Regions from separate parts of the Homo sapiens genome. Here all the other regions are linked to region 5. Evidence: promoter capture Hi-C in 16 types of primary human blood cells and fetal thymus (Javierre and others, 2016). All regions are on one chromosome and are shown on one strand. Each heading gives the region's core, a stretch centred on a gene start or on the middle of the fragment in contact. The rest is flanking DNA. Distances are from core to core; before and after follow the strand shown. Region 1 has its middle 5.1 kb from the start of ECT2. Region 2 overlaps NCEH1 (neutral cholesterol ester hydrolase 1). Region 3 overlaps NCEH1 (neutral cholesterol ester hydrolase 1). Region 4 overlaps LINC02068 (long intergenic non-protein coding RNA 2068). Region 5 holds the start of FNDC3B (fibronectin type III domain containing 3B).

What was found. Contacts are between HindIII fragments. The CHiCAGO score rates a contact against its expected background, and 5 or more counts as called.
Region 1: a fragment that was not itself captured here is called in contact with the fragment with the promoter of FNDC3B in region 5 in 1 of 17 cell types (fetal thymus); the score reaches 5.1 in fetal thymus.
Region 2: a contact is called between a fragment that was not itself captured here and the fragment with the promoter of FNDC3B in region 5, in 1 of 17 cell types (fetal thymus). The highest score is 5.3, in fetal thymus.
Region 3: a contact is called between a fragment that was not itself captured here and the fragment with the promoter of FNDC3B in region 5, in 1 of 17 cell types (monocytes). The highest score is 5.2, in monocytes.
Region 4: a fragment that was not itself captured here is called in contact with the fragment with the promoter of FNDC3B in region 5 in 1 of 17 cell types (neutrophils); the score reaches 5.3 in neutrophils.

Annotation. Positions count from the first base shown.
Region 1 is chr3:172,744,231-172,746,930 of GRCh38, forward strand. No RefSeq gene overlaps it. Among named protein-coding and RNA genes, the nearest start is that of ECT2, 5.1 kb to the right of the region's middle. The HindIII fragment of the contact is 7,459 bases long and covers 1-2,700 here.
Region 2 is chr3:172,670,844-172,673,543 of GRCh38, forward strand. The region is part of intron 1 of NCEH1 (neutral cholesterol ester hydrolase 1); the gene reads right to left. The region is part of intron 1 of LOC124909457 (a long non-coding RNA gene); the gene reads left to right. Among named protein-coding and RNA genes, the nearest start is that of NCEH1, 39 kb to the right of the region's middle. The HindIII fragment of the contact is 8,224 bases long and covers 1-2,700 here.
Region 3 is chr3:172,698,584-172,701,283 of GRCh38, forward strand. All of the region lies in intron 1 of NCEH1 (neutral cholesterol ester hydrolase 1), which reads right to left. Among named protein-coding and RNA genes, the nearest start is that of NCEH1, 11 kb to the right of the region's middle. The HindIII fragment of the contact is 5,162 bases long and covers 1-2,700 here.
Region 4 is chr3:172,581,039-172,583,738 of GRCh38, forward strand. The region is part of intron 2 of LINC02068 (long intergenic non-protein coding RNA 2068); the gene reads right to left. Among named protein-coding and RNA genes, the nearest start is that of LINC02068, 13 kb to the right of the region's middle. The HindIII fragment of the contact is 2,991 bases long and covers 1-2,700 here.
Region 5 is chr3:172,038,188-172,040,887 of GRCh38, forward strand. It overlaps FNDC3B (fibronectin type III domain containing 3B), which reads left to right and starts at 1,391. Exons shown (of 26, transcript NM_022763.4): 1 at 1,391-1,584. RefSeq lists enhancers at 1,211-1,878, 1,879-2,545 and silencers at 1,464-1,643, 1,784-1,883, 2,064-2,313, 2,374-2,700. The HindIII fragment of the contact is 7,479 bases long and covers 1-2,700 here.

The sequences.
Region 1 (2,700 bases), core at 106-2,605, 710 kb after region 5:
AATCATGGCTCACTGCAGCCTTGAACTCCTGGGCTCAAGTGATCCTCCCACTTCAGCCTCCTGAGTAGCTGAGATTACAGGCACATGCCAGTATGGCCAGCTAGGTATCCCTTTATAGCAATGAAATGGGCTAAGATACCCCATAATCATGGGGAAAGAGTTATCACATATTTTTAGGAAACATAGGGTTAGCCAGGTGTGATGGCTTATGCCTTGTAATTCCAGTGACTCAGGAGGCTGAGGTGGGAGGATTGCTTGAGCCCAGAAGTTCGAGACTAGTGTGGGCCAAACAGCGAGACACCATCTCTTGAAATTAAAAAAAAAAAAAAATTAGGTGGGTATGGTGGCACACACCTATAGTCCCAGCTACTCGGGAGGTTCAAGTGGGAGGATTGCTTAAGCCCAGGAGTTCCCAAGAGTTTGAGACTGCAGTGAGCTATAATGGTGCCACTGCCCTCTAGCTTGAGTGACAGAGCAAACTCCATCTCACCTCAAAAAAAAAAAAAAAAAAAGAGCAAGAGAAACACATAGGGTTAGAAAGCATGTTCTAATATTTAGTATGCAGATAATTTATTCCAATTTATACACAAAACCGTAACCAAGTTAATAAGTAGAAATATGCAGTAATAAGTCAACATGAACTTACTGACCTATTTTGATATCATGAACAATTGATAAAGCAACAGTAACAAGTAGAGAAGGAGTATTCATGGCTGCTAATTTACCGATGGAAAAAAAAGATGCAGAAACCCCAGCCAGCCTCTGACATGAAATAAGATATGGACAGAAATCAAACTACTAAAAAATCTGGTTATTTTCCCTTCTTTCCTCTTTTCCATAATTTTTTTTTTTTTGAGATGGGGTCGTGCTCTGCTGCCCAGGCTAGAGTGTAGTGGCTTGATCTCAGCTCACTGCAACCTCTGCCTCCTGGGCTCAAGAGACCTTCCCACCCCATCCCCCCACTCTGAGCAGCTGGGACCACAGAAGTGCATCACTATGCCCAGCTAATTTTTTGTAGTTTTGGTAGTGATGGGGTTTCTCCATGTTGCCACAGGCTGGTCTCAAACTCCTGAGCTCAAATGATCCGCCCACCTCAGCCCCCAAAGTACTGGGATTACAGGGGTGAGCCACCGTGCCCAGCCTCCATAGATATTTTTTGAGAGCACAAGTGCCAGGGTACAAAGATGGAAAGGATATGGTTCTTTTCCCTATTCTTGAGTAGCTCATATTTTAATAGAGGAGACAGCCATGTTAACCAATATTTCCAATACAAGGTGACAGGAGCCATACTGAGGTATAAACAGTATTAAGCTCATACAAATCAGAAGAAGCAGTTTACTCTCCATGGGATAGTCAAAGAAGGCTTCATTGAGGTGATGCTTGAGTGGGGTCCTGAATGAATAGGAATTTTCATGCAGACAGAGGGAGGCAGGGCAGGTGGAAAAGAATATTCAAAGGTAGGGATTTAGGAAATCGCCTGGAATGTTTGTGGACTGACGAAAAGTTCAGTATGGCTGAACACAGGGTGCGTATGTGGTAGGGATGAGGGTGATAGAAAATTAGGTTACAGTCATCTTGGGAAGTCCATCTTATACTGGACTTTATTCTGTGAGCAGTGAAGAAACCATGTCTTTTGGTTTAGTTTTGTTTTTAAGGAGGGGGATACATAGTCATATTTAGTTTTCTAAATGAAGATAATTCTGTGACTGATGACTGGAAGTAGAGAGAGTGATTAGTTCCCAAAAGACCAACTAGAAGGCTGTCCTTGTCATAGTTTGGATGAGAGATAATGAAGGCCTAAACTCGGGCAGTGGACTGAAGGGGGAAGATTCAGATTCTAGAAATATTTTTCAGGTCAAATTGGGAGAATGGTGTTGGGGTTGGTGGTGCAGGGAGACCAAGAGGAGGAAGGGAACAGGAAGATGACTTTGAGAGATCCAACTTGGGAGTCAGAGTGAATGGGGATTCTACTAATCAGGAGAGAAATACAAGAGGCAGAGGAGATAAAGGATGGAGAGCTGGGGAAAAGAAGAATTCACTTTAGCACATGAAGAGTTTGATAGGATTGTGGGTCACAGGAGCAGAAAAAATTGGTAAACAACTGGCATTATAGAGTGGGTTTCAACAAGGTCTGGCAAGAAAGAGAGACGTGGAAGCATATGCATATAACTTAAATCCCTGGGAATGAATGAGTTCACCTAGGGAAAGGGGGTTGCCTGAGAATAATACTTTGGGGAACAATAATATCTAAGCAAAGGAAACCGAGAAGGAAACATCAGAGAGGCAGGAAGAGAAGTAAGACAGTGAAAGTGGTGGTCTTTCAGCAGCTGAATTAATGACCATGGGTTAGAAAGGGGTGCTATCATTAGGGGGAACTGAAGGCTAAATATCCTTGATTCATGTGTGAAAGGGATTAAGAGATGGGAAGAAAATTTCGTAATCAGAATGGAATGTTTGAAGTTAACATTTGAGAGCTAAAGCAATTGAGTGTAAAACATTTAGGATATTGTCCATCAAAATAAGTGTTGAATTGAGGTTTTGGGATTCAAAAATTCAAGGAACTGTGAATCTAATTGGCTGGTTCATCAAAGGAAGAAAGACAGAGAACTAGTCTTCTGAATTTGGAAACTGTTCTATTTATTTAATGATACTGCTATTTATCAGAAATTTATATGGATGTAGTAATTTTTACATATTTTG
Region 2 (2,700 bases), core at 85-2,584, 630 kb after region 5:
GAAAATTTCATATTTAAAATTATAGTTGAGAATAATGGAAGATTTTTCCCATTATCTTTGCTCTCCTAGATAGTAACCAGATAAATGACTTCCCAGAGAAATGCATAGTCATATAAGATAAAACGTCTTTTTCTCTCCATTTTACTCAGAGTTTGATGATGAACTATGACTGGATATTGAAATAATCATTCTTTTATCCTTTGTAGTAAGGCTTACTTTGTCCAGTGGCAACATGATCAGACAAGCAGCTCTCAGATGACATGTGACAATATTAAATTCAATCTTAGCAAGCAGCTTCTCAATTTCACACTTGTGGTAGCTGGATTAACCCAATTATTTTTTGGAGGTTAAGGGAAACTTTTACATTTGCAGAATACCATCCTTCAGAAACCAGAAAGTAGGATTTCGTTAACTCAAAGAATTTTATGGAGATGGAAAGATCAGTTGGTATTTATTAAATTTTAGCACAGAATCAGATGGAGGGTTTAGGAAGAAGTAGATATGATTACCTAATAATTCACTTTGAGTTCTTCACTTTGATCCTCAAAAATGTGTGAAACTTGGGACTTTTACTTAGCATACCTTTCGGGTAAAATATTTTCATTGTACCAGTTCCAGGCTCTTGGTTCTAGCACAAAACCGCTGCTACACACACATACACATACACACACACACACACACACACATATATAGATATATATACAAATATATATATATGCTACCTATATATACACCTGCTACATGTGTGTATATATATTTACACATGCACATATCAGGTGTGTATAAATGTAGCATGTATATATACATACACACATGCACACAGGCACACACATACTTGTTACATATATAATTACACATGCACATATCAGGTGTATATAAATGTAGCATGTATATATACATACACACATGCACACAGGCACACACATACTTGTTACATATAGTCAGGTGCTGCATGATGACATTTTGCTCAAGAACAGATCACATATATGAGGGTGGTTCCATAGATTATGATGGAGCTGGAAAACTCTTATAACCTAGTGGCATTGTTGTCATTGTGACATTGTAGTGCAATTACTTAATTTTTAAAACAAATTTAGTGTAACCTAAGTGTACAGTATTTATAAGGCCTACAGTAATGCATAGTAATGTCCTAGGCCTTCACATTTGCTTACTACTCATTCACTGATTCACCCAGAGCAAATTCTACTCCTGCAAGCTCCACGGTAAGTGCCTTACACAGGGGTAGCATTTTTTAATCTTTTGTATCATATTTTGCTGTACCTTTTCTATGTTTAGATATACAAATACTTACCATTACATTGTAATTGCCTACAGTGCTGAGTACCAAGTTTCACCAAGTATTAGATCTACAAATACTTACCACTGCATTATAATTGCCTACATGTTGAGTACCGTTTCACCAAGTTGGACAGGCTAGTTTCAAACGCCCGACCTCAGGTGATCTGCCTGCCTTAGCCTCCCAAAGTGCTGGAATTACAGTGAGAGCCACCGCACCTGGCCAGGAAGCCCTTTTTAATACGCGTTTTAGAAGGCCTATGGAAAACCAGGGCCAAACCTCTCAATTACTCTAAACTGTCTATAATAGACCAAAAGCCAGATGAGAATCCTGTGGCCTTTATAGAAAGGCTGATAGAGGCACTAATAGAACACTCTTCCTTTTATCCCCTGATTCAGTGGAGAGACAGCTCATCCTGAAGGACAGTTTTATTACACAGGCAGCTCCCAATATTAGAAGAAAACTACAGAAGCAAGCTATGGGACCAAATAGCACCTTAGAGAACCTCCTGAAGGGGGCCACTTCGGTCTTTTATAATAGGGACCAGGAGGAGGCCCAAAAGAAAGAGAGAAAGCTCAGGGGAAGGACAAAGGCTCTAGCAGCAGCTTTGCAGGCTGGCAAAGTCCAGGAGCCCCAAGATGCATCCATTAGTTGCTATCAGTGTGGCAGGCCAGGGTATTTTAAAGAGGAATGCCCAGGCAGCAAGACGAAGCCACCTCAACCCTGTCCATCCAGTGGCAAAAACCAGTGGAGACAGAACTGTCCCCAGATATGGAGGTCACTGGGTTCAGAGCCAGTCTCACAGATGGTCCCACAGGACTGATGGGTCCTGGGGCCCAAACCTCAGCTCCAGCAGCTCAAACTGCCATCATAGCATAGGAGCCCCAGGTGATACTGGACATTGAAGAAAAGGAAGCAGACCTCCTTCTAAACACTAGACCCAGTCTCTCTCTTTTCTCCTCTCTAAGCCAGGCCTCCTCTCTTCCTATAGCGCAACTATAAGGGGCATTTCAAGAAAAACTCTAATCCAATATTTTTCTCAACCTTAGTTGTGGTTAGGAGGACCTATTTACAAATGCTTCCAAGCCATTGTCATAGTAGCTCTACTAGTCAGAAAAGCCTCCTAGTTAACCCTAGGAAATAATTTAACTGTTTACACCCCACATAATGTGGCAGGATCACTGTCCTCTAGGGGGAGCTCTTAGCCGGCAAACAGCCAGTGAAGCAAGAGGTACATAAAGCAGGAGAGGCAGTAGTCACTCTCCCCAAACACAAGCGCTCAATTGGCTGAGCTAAGAGCTCTTACAAGAGCACCTAAATTAAGCAAGGGAAAGGTGGCTAACATTTATACTGACTCCAAGTATGCTTTCCTGATTTTCCATGCTCATGCTGCCATTTGAAAG
Region 3 (2,700 bases), core at 93-2,592, 660 kb after region 5:
ATCAACTATCCTATTCAAGGGGAAAAAGAAAAGGCAGATGACTATCAAATGTGGAAAATCACCAGTGTTCTTTTAAGGAGATGTCCTATAATTAACATTTAGTCAGAAACAGACACATAATTCATGACAAATTTGAAAACAAGCATAAATCTATTAAAACATGAGGAAGTTAGAAACCCAGAAAACAGCGAGGCTTGCAAAACACAGTTGTGAAGGACAACACAAAACCATTTTTGGCTACATTCAGAGTCAGAAGCACGTGGAAGCACAGGGCCTGCCCCTTGCGACAGACGCGGTAACACAGTGATAATGGAAGCAGAACCATGAATTCCTAATTTCTCTTTAGTCTCTCTATCGTGAATGGTCTTCAAACAAAAATAAAAGTCCTAAAGCAGTAAGAGGAAAATTATGTCAATGATAGGAGAGAAAATTTATGATTTGGTGGGGAGCCTGTACATAAGTAGCAACATAAGCAACATCTAAGGGCCATAAAAGAAAACCAAAACGCTAGCAGAGTGTTGAGAGAGAAATTAAGGCCAAGGAAGGGCAGTGAGAGGGAAAGAGACGGGGAAGTTCTCAAAAGAGATGATTTCTGAGTTGGTATTGAACGATGCGTGGGATATTGCCCAAAGTAAAAGGGTGGGAGGGCATCTGGGACAGAGGGGACAACAGGAGAAGCGTAAGCAGATTCACGAGCTGAACTGTCATCCATGACACAGTGAGGCTGCAGTCAGCAAAATGGTGCCAGGTTGTAGCAAGCACCAAGTGCCAGCCAAGGAACTTAGCACTTTTATTCTACAGGGGATAGGAAGTGCGGGTGGGGTGGAGGAGTGGTAACTGGAGGATTAACAGTCAGATTGGAGCACTCAGGACTGGGAACGAGGGATCATTTCACAGCCTTGACTTGATTAGGCCAAATGTGTGCAAGTCAAATAAATGCAGCCTGAGCATCCGTCCAGGTTTGACTGAGAATCACTCTGGTTTAAAACCATTGCACTGAGCTAGGCATGGTGCCTCATACCTGCAATCCCAGCACTTTGGGAGGCTGAGACAAGAGAATCACTTGAGCCCAGGAGTTTAAGACCCACCCTGGCAATATAGGGAGACCTCATCTCTACAAAAAATACAAAAATCAGCTGGGCATGGTGGTGTATGCCTGTGGTCCCAGCTACTTGGGAGGCTGAGGTGGGAAGATTGCTTGAACCTGGGGAGGCAGAGGTTGCAGTGAACCACGATCATACCACTGCATTCCAGCCTGCGCCACAGACACCCTGTCTCAAAACAAAGAAAAAAACACTGTTGACCTAGCATGATTATTAATAGCAGTCCCTGCTACTCTCAAAAATGTCCTGGTTTGGACAATAAATTATACGGCTACCTAAATACATGTAACTTGGGGACTATCTATCTGTGTTTAATAACAATGATAACAGACATATATTTTAAAAGTTACAAACTGGAGAAAGGTGAGCTTCCCAATAGGTATTCTACAAATGGATTACAGATGGGGCACTAGCTATCAATGTTTAAATATTTTATAGAGGTAAAAACTTAAAGCCATTTTGTATAACTATACAGAGTTGAATAATTGGCATCAGAGTTGGCATTCTATTTGAGAACCATTTGTGTAACTCTTTATAAATCTTGTGAATTCTGTTATTCAAGCTCATACAGATTTCCCCAAAATTGCTTCCAGAATCCCCAGTATACTATACAAATGTAATTGTTTCTATGACACAAAAAATAAGAAGAAGCACTGATATAGATTAATTGTGGGAGCTCAAAAAAAAAATCAGGACAAAAAATTCACTAGTGACTAAGTTATCATGAGTGTCCTCACAGCATAGCCCAGCAGGGAGGGCATGAAACTAAGAGTCCATGAATTTCTATTGCAGTTCCCATTTCGCCAGCATAACTGATCACATGTTTAAATTTAAAAAATTTTTTTAAGAGACAGGGTCTTGCTCTGTCACCCAGGCTAGAGTGTAGTGGTGTGATCATACAGCCTTCACCTCCTAGGCTCAAGAGATCCTCAGTCTCCCCAGTAGCTGAGATCATGTGCCACCACATCTGGCTAACTATGTTTTGTAGAGACAGTCTTACTTTGTTGCCAAGGCTGGTCTTGAACTCCTGGCCTCAAGGGGTCTCCTGCCTTGGGATTACATGTGTGAGCCACCGTGCCTGGCCCTGATCATACGATCTTGATGGTGTCCTTGAGCCTTTCTGAACCTCAAGTTCCCTTAGCTGACAAATGGAAATAACAATGGCAACCAGTTATTTATTGAAAAAAAAATGAAATGAGGTGATATTAGTAAAAACCTTCATAAAATCTAGAGTACTTTATAAATATGAGGTATACTAAAAAGTTATGTTAAGGTCTCATTTCTCTCAGGGATAGCCTCTTTTTCCACTTGCCACTGGTGTCCCTGAGGGGCACCCTTGGTAAAATCCTCCAGATCTTACTGTCACTCCAAACACATTCATTTCAACTACTTCTGCCACTATCCATTTGCTGACTACTCCCAAATCCATATCACCAGCCCAGCTCTGTCTCCTGAGCTCTGGATCTGTATATGCAGCTGTTTATGATCAGCCATCCTTGGACTAGTCCACTGACACTTCAAAACAGGGTCCCAAACTCTATATCTTCACCCTCAGATCTGCTCTTGCTCCCAAATCAGGGTCATGGTCCCCATTCAC
Region 4 (2,700 bases), core at 94-2,593, 540 kb after region 5:
TGTAGTTCATTTTATGTTATACTAAAATGATACTTTTTTCCAAAGTAGGGTAAAGATTTTCAAAGTTACATTCAATTTGTGACATATTGACTTCCTTTCAAAAATTGCCTTATGAATTACCATATGAAATTTTTCCAGAATCTTTGAGGGACTTAACCTAAGATTTTCCCCTCAGTATACAACAGTGACTAGATTTTTTCTGCCTGTACAGCACTTCAACTACATGGAACAGGTTAAGTCTTGTTTGATAATTCGATTCGTAAAGGTACAAAATGATCATGAACATGCCTGATCACCATATCTGAAACTCACCCTAATCCTGTAAAATGAATACTACTTTCCTTCCTATTTCAGCCTCATCCCAAGCAAAAGAAAAAAAATTTTGAGGCACTACTTATTTTTTATTATGCATAAAAATTTACACATAATTATACATGTGACAAATGTAAAACAGCATGCATTCACCAATATAATATCGGAATAATTTCACTTCCCTAAATATCCTCCATGTTCTGCCTATTTATCCGTCCCTCCCCTCTAGCCCCTGGCATGTATTATAATAAATGTTTGCTTACTACCAGATCATCTCAGGGAGCACCAGTGACATGCAAATATAATTTTGGAAACAATGGACTAAAGTTGTTTAAGCCATGCACAAGTGGCTGCAGTTTATCAATCGAGGTAGCAGCTTGAATTTTTCTGAGAAAGAAGATTATTGTTTCTAAGTATAGCTTAAGTGGCAGAATGTGAGTCTAGAGATGCTGATACCCATATGTTACCACATGGAGAGAGGTCTCATAAGAATGAGGTCAACATGGAGGTGGGAGATGGAGTGGAAGACTGAGAGACAGAGAGAGAGAGGAGATTGATTTCTGACTGCATCTTTTAAGTACTTGGATTTAATTATGCCTGAATGCAGCCTTATCTTAGTCCCTAGACTTTTTAGTTACATAAACTGATACATTCTCACATTCAATTGAGCCAGTTTGAGTTAGGTTTCTGAATGACTCAAGAAGTCTTTATTCTAGAAGTTAGTCTATGGAAATGAAGTTTTACATGGGACAAACCCTAAATTGGATTTGTACAAGACAAGATGTATCACAGGAGGGTGGAAATCTTCCTATCCTGGCTGAGAAGGGAAGATCCTTGATAGGTGATAGCAAACAGTCAACTAAACTGTCACCTCTTGTTGTTGTTGTTTAGTAGACCTTATTTTTTAGGTTCATTTTTAGATGCACAGAAAAATTGATCAGGAAATAGAGTGCCCATATATTCCCTGCCCCTACAACTGCTTAGCCTCTCCCACTATCAACATTCCACACCAGAGTGGCACATTTGTTATAATGAATCATTATCACCCAAGGTCCATAGTTTGCATGAGGCTTCACTCTTGGTGTTGGTCATCTTATGGATTTTGATAAATATCTAATGACATGTATCCACCATTGTAGTATCATACAAAATAGTTCCGATGCACTAAATATCCCCTGTGCTTCACCTATTTATCTCTGTCTCCCCACTAACTCCTGGAAACTACTCATCTTTTTACTGTTTCCCTAGTTTTGCCTTTTCCGGAATGGCATATAGTTGGAATCATATAGTATGTAGCCTTTTCAGATTGGCTTCTTTCACTTGGCAATATGCACTTAAATTTCCTCCGTGTCTTTACATGGCTTGATAGCTCATTTGGTTTTAGTGCTGAATAATATTCAATTGTCTGGATGTACCACACTTTTTTTACCCTCTCGTCCACTGAAGAAAATCTTGGTTGCTTCCAAGTTTTCACAGTTATGAATAAGGCTGCTGTAAACATCCATATGCAACTTTTTGTGTGGACATGAGTTTTCAAGTCCTTTGGGCAAATTCCAAGGATATGATTGCTGACTCACATAGTAAGAACATGTTTAGACTTATAAGAAACTGCCAAATTGTCTCTCTTAGTCTGTTTGGGCTGCTATAACAAAATACTATAAACTGGGTAGCTAACAAATACCAAAATAACAGAAATTTATTTCTCACAGTTCTGGAGGCTGAGAAGTCTAAGATCAAAGCAGTGGCAGATTTGGTATTGGGTGAGAGCCTGCTCTCTGGTTCATAGATGGTGTCTTCTGGCTGTGTCCTAATATGGCAGAAAGAACTTGCTAGCTCTTGGGTCTTCTTTTTTTTTTTTTACAAGGCTGCTAATTCCATTCATGAGGGCCCTGCTCTCATGATCTATTCACTCCCAAAGATCCCACTCCCTACCATCATCATGGGGGATAGGATTTCAACATATGAATTTTAGGGAGACGTGAGCATTCCCTCTATCATACTGTCTTTCAAAATGTCTGTACGATTTTGACTTCCCACCAACATTGCTCCACAATCTTGTCAGCATTTGGTGTCATTAGTGTTTTGGATATGGGCCATTCTAACAGGCATGCAGTAGCATCTCATTGCTGTTTTAGCTTGCAATTCCTTAATGACATATGGTGTTGAATATCTCTTCATATGCATGTTTGACATTGGGATATCTTATTTGATGAGGTATCTGTTGAGGTCTTTTGCCTATTTTATTTAGTTATTTGTTTCCTTATTTTTGAGTTTTAAGAGTTCTTTGTAAATTTCAGATAACAGTTCTTTATCAAATATGTCCTTTGCAGGTATTTTTCCCAGCTTGTTTTTAAATAAAATCAGACCATATCCTTATACCAAGGCCTG
Region 5 (2,700 bases), core at 141-2,640:
GCATGGCACCTGAGGAAGCCAAAGAGTCTGGAGCCAGAGAAGGCATTTGGACTCAAATGGGATCTATTGGATTGTACCCTATTGGCACTAAGGAACTACTGCCTACCCCCCGCCCCGGCTTCTCATGCAGGACTATGACCTAGAATTGGAGTTATGTTATAGAAAGATGGCTTCAAGTTCCCCTTTGAGGAGCTCCACAGTAAATAAGCCATTTAGGAGAGAGGTCCCCATTTCTCTGGACTCACCATTGCCTCCAAAAAAAAAAAAAAAAGGCTAAAATCTCCCCAAAAGAATGGCAAATGAACAAGGGAAGGAAGGAGCTATTTCTTAGTGTTCTTTAGACTTTAACAGAGTATTATGTACTGCTATTATTATTTTTTAGGTTAACAAAAGTAATACATTGTCTCTAGTGACTCCCTGAATGCTCCTTTGTAGCTTAATAGTTGAGGCTGAATGTAGCTATTCAGAATACCTGGACAGCTATGGATGGAAGGGGCTTCTCTAGGCTAACTTTTGCTCTCTTGTCTCCTGAATAATCTGAGGGGTGGCATGGGATGCAGTCTGTTAACCTCTTAGAGCCTGTACAACAGAAATACATTACATTTGACTTAATATGAACTCAACAGTTATTTAATGAGTCCTATTGTGGTCCTTGCACTGTGCTATATTTTACGGATATAAAGATAAAAGTAAGAAACAGTCTTTGTCCCTGAGAAACGCATTGTGAAATAAGGCTGGGTGAGTTGGCTCACGCCTGTAATCTCAACACTTTGGGAGGCCAAGGCGGGAGAATCACTTGAGCGACAGAGTTCCAGACCAGCCTGGGCAACCTATTGAGACCCCCTCTCTTCCAAAAAAGGAAAAAAAAAAAAAAAAAAAAAGGGTGCGGTGGCTCATGCCTGCCCCGTGCCTGCAGTCCCCAAAACAAACAACAACAACAACAAAAAACAAAAAACAAAAAGAAAGAGGAAAGAGAGATTTTAACTTAAGTATAATAAAAATTGCTCATACTATGTTAGTTGTATGAATAAAATGCTGTGGGAAATGTGGGAGTAATATAGCTCACAAGGTTGCTGTGGGGGTTAACAACAACAAAAAGCGAAATATATGTGTAAATGAAAAAAAGTCAGTTTTAGGCTTAATTATCACTGAGTAAACATTGCCTTTATATTACTTTGGCGATCTGCAGAACGCGCAGCCCTCGCCATTCAGGAGTTGTTAGTTCCCTAAGCCTCAGGTTTCTTTAGTCTGGCTGAACCAAAAGGAGTTTCTGCTTAGCTAGGCAGGGCCGGGGGACAACAGCTTCTGCGAGTCTGCGATTGTGGCGGCCGGTATATTCGGCGGTTTACGGTAATGGGCGGGCCCCAAATCCCCATGTGGTCCCGACATCATTGACATGGCGGAATCCCCCATCAAACCCTCCTGGTAGTTATTTGAGCGGCGGCGGCGGCGGCTGGAGGAGGAGAGCGGCGGCGGCGGGAGCAGCGAAGGGGGCGGCAGGGATCCTCCAGGCTGCCGGCTGGGAAGGCGTGGGCGACCCGGTGTGTGGCGCGCCCAGAGCCCCGCGTTTCAGCCCTAGGGAAGGTAAGGCGTGCAAGAGCCGGGGACTAGAGGAGACCGGGACCCCGAGCGCGATCGCCGGGTCCCGGTGCACTGGAAAGCCCCGGCCTGACGCCGAGTCCGCCAAAGTGCGTCCCTGTCCCGGGAGCGCCCTGGGCTTCCCGGCAAAAACTTGGCGCCGGAGTGCTGGGGCGCCCCGTGCTCGCCTGGGCACCCCGGGAACACGGGACCCGGGAGGGGGCGGCCCCCGCCTTGCTGGGCTGGGGTCCCCCGCCTGTGCCCCCTGCCTCAGGGTTTGGAGGAGTGAAAGAAACGGGTAGATTCCTCTTAAAAAAAATTGGGCAGTGGCTCGCGGCCTCCCCCCACCCCCAGCCTTCCCAGCAGATTTTGTCCGAGGAATCCGCTCCCCCTCCCGGAATCTCCGCGGCAGGAACGCTGCCCAGGAGGGGGAGGGCGGGCGGCGAGGCCGAGGAATCTTCGACGTGTCACTTTCTGAGGCTGTAGATTTCCATATGGTGGAGGGAAGAGGGCGGGAGTGCGAAGTGGGGCTGGAAGTTGGGGCCGCCTCTCCGCGCCGGCGGGGGCGGTCGGGGGCCTCGAACCCGGGGATGCTCGCGGGGAGGGTCCCGAGCCCGCGCCGGCCTGGCCCCCCCGTCCCCGGCTGGGCCTCTCCGGGACACTCCCCGCCCCGCTGCTGGCCACCTCCGAGCACGCCACGTCCTCCTCCCCGTCCTGCCCCCCGGGCTCCCCCCGGGCTGGGGGCGGTAACCGGCGGCCGCGGCCGGACTTGGCGAGCCGGCGGCTGGAAGCTCGGGCGGGGGAGCGGGGCGCGGCGGGAAGGAGCGGGCGACCCGGTGTGTGGGCCAGCGGAGCTCCGGTCAGTCGGTCACCCCGAGGGGCGCCTCGGCCGGGGATAGGGCGGGCGGGCGGAATCTGCGCCCCGAGGCGGCCAGGAGGGGCCGCGCGGACCGTCTGGTGCCCGCGGCTGGGCTGGGGCCGGCAGGCGTGGGAAGGGCCTGTCACTCTCGGCAGAAAGTGGGGCCTCGGGCTGTGCCCGCGAACTTTCCCAGAGGTCCGGGTCCCGGCGTCCCGTGGGAACCGGAGGACCCGGGCCCGCCGTCTCGGGAGACTGGGCTGCGC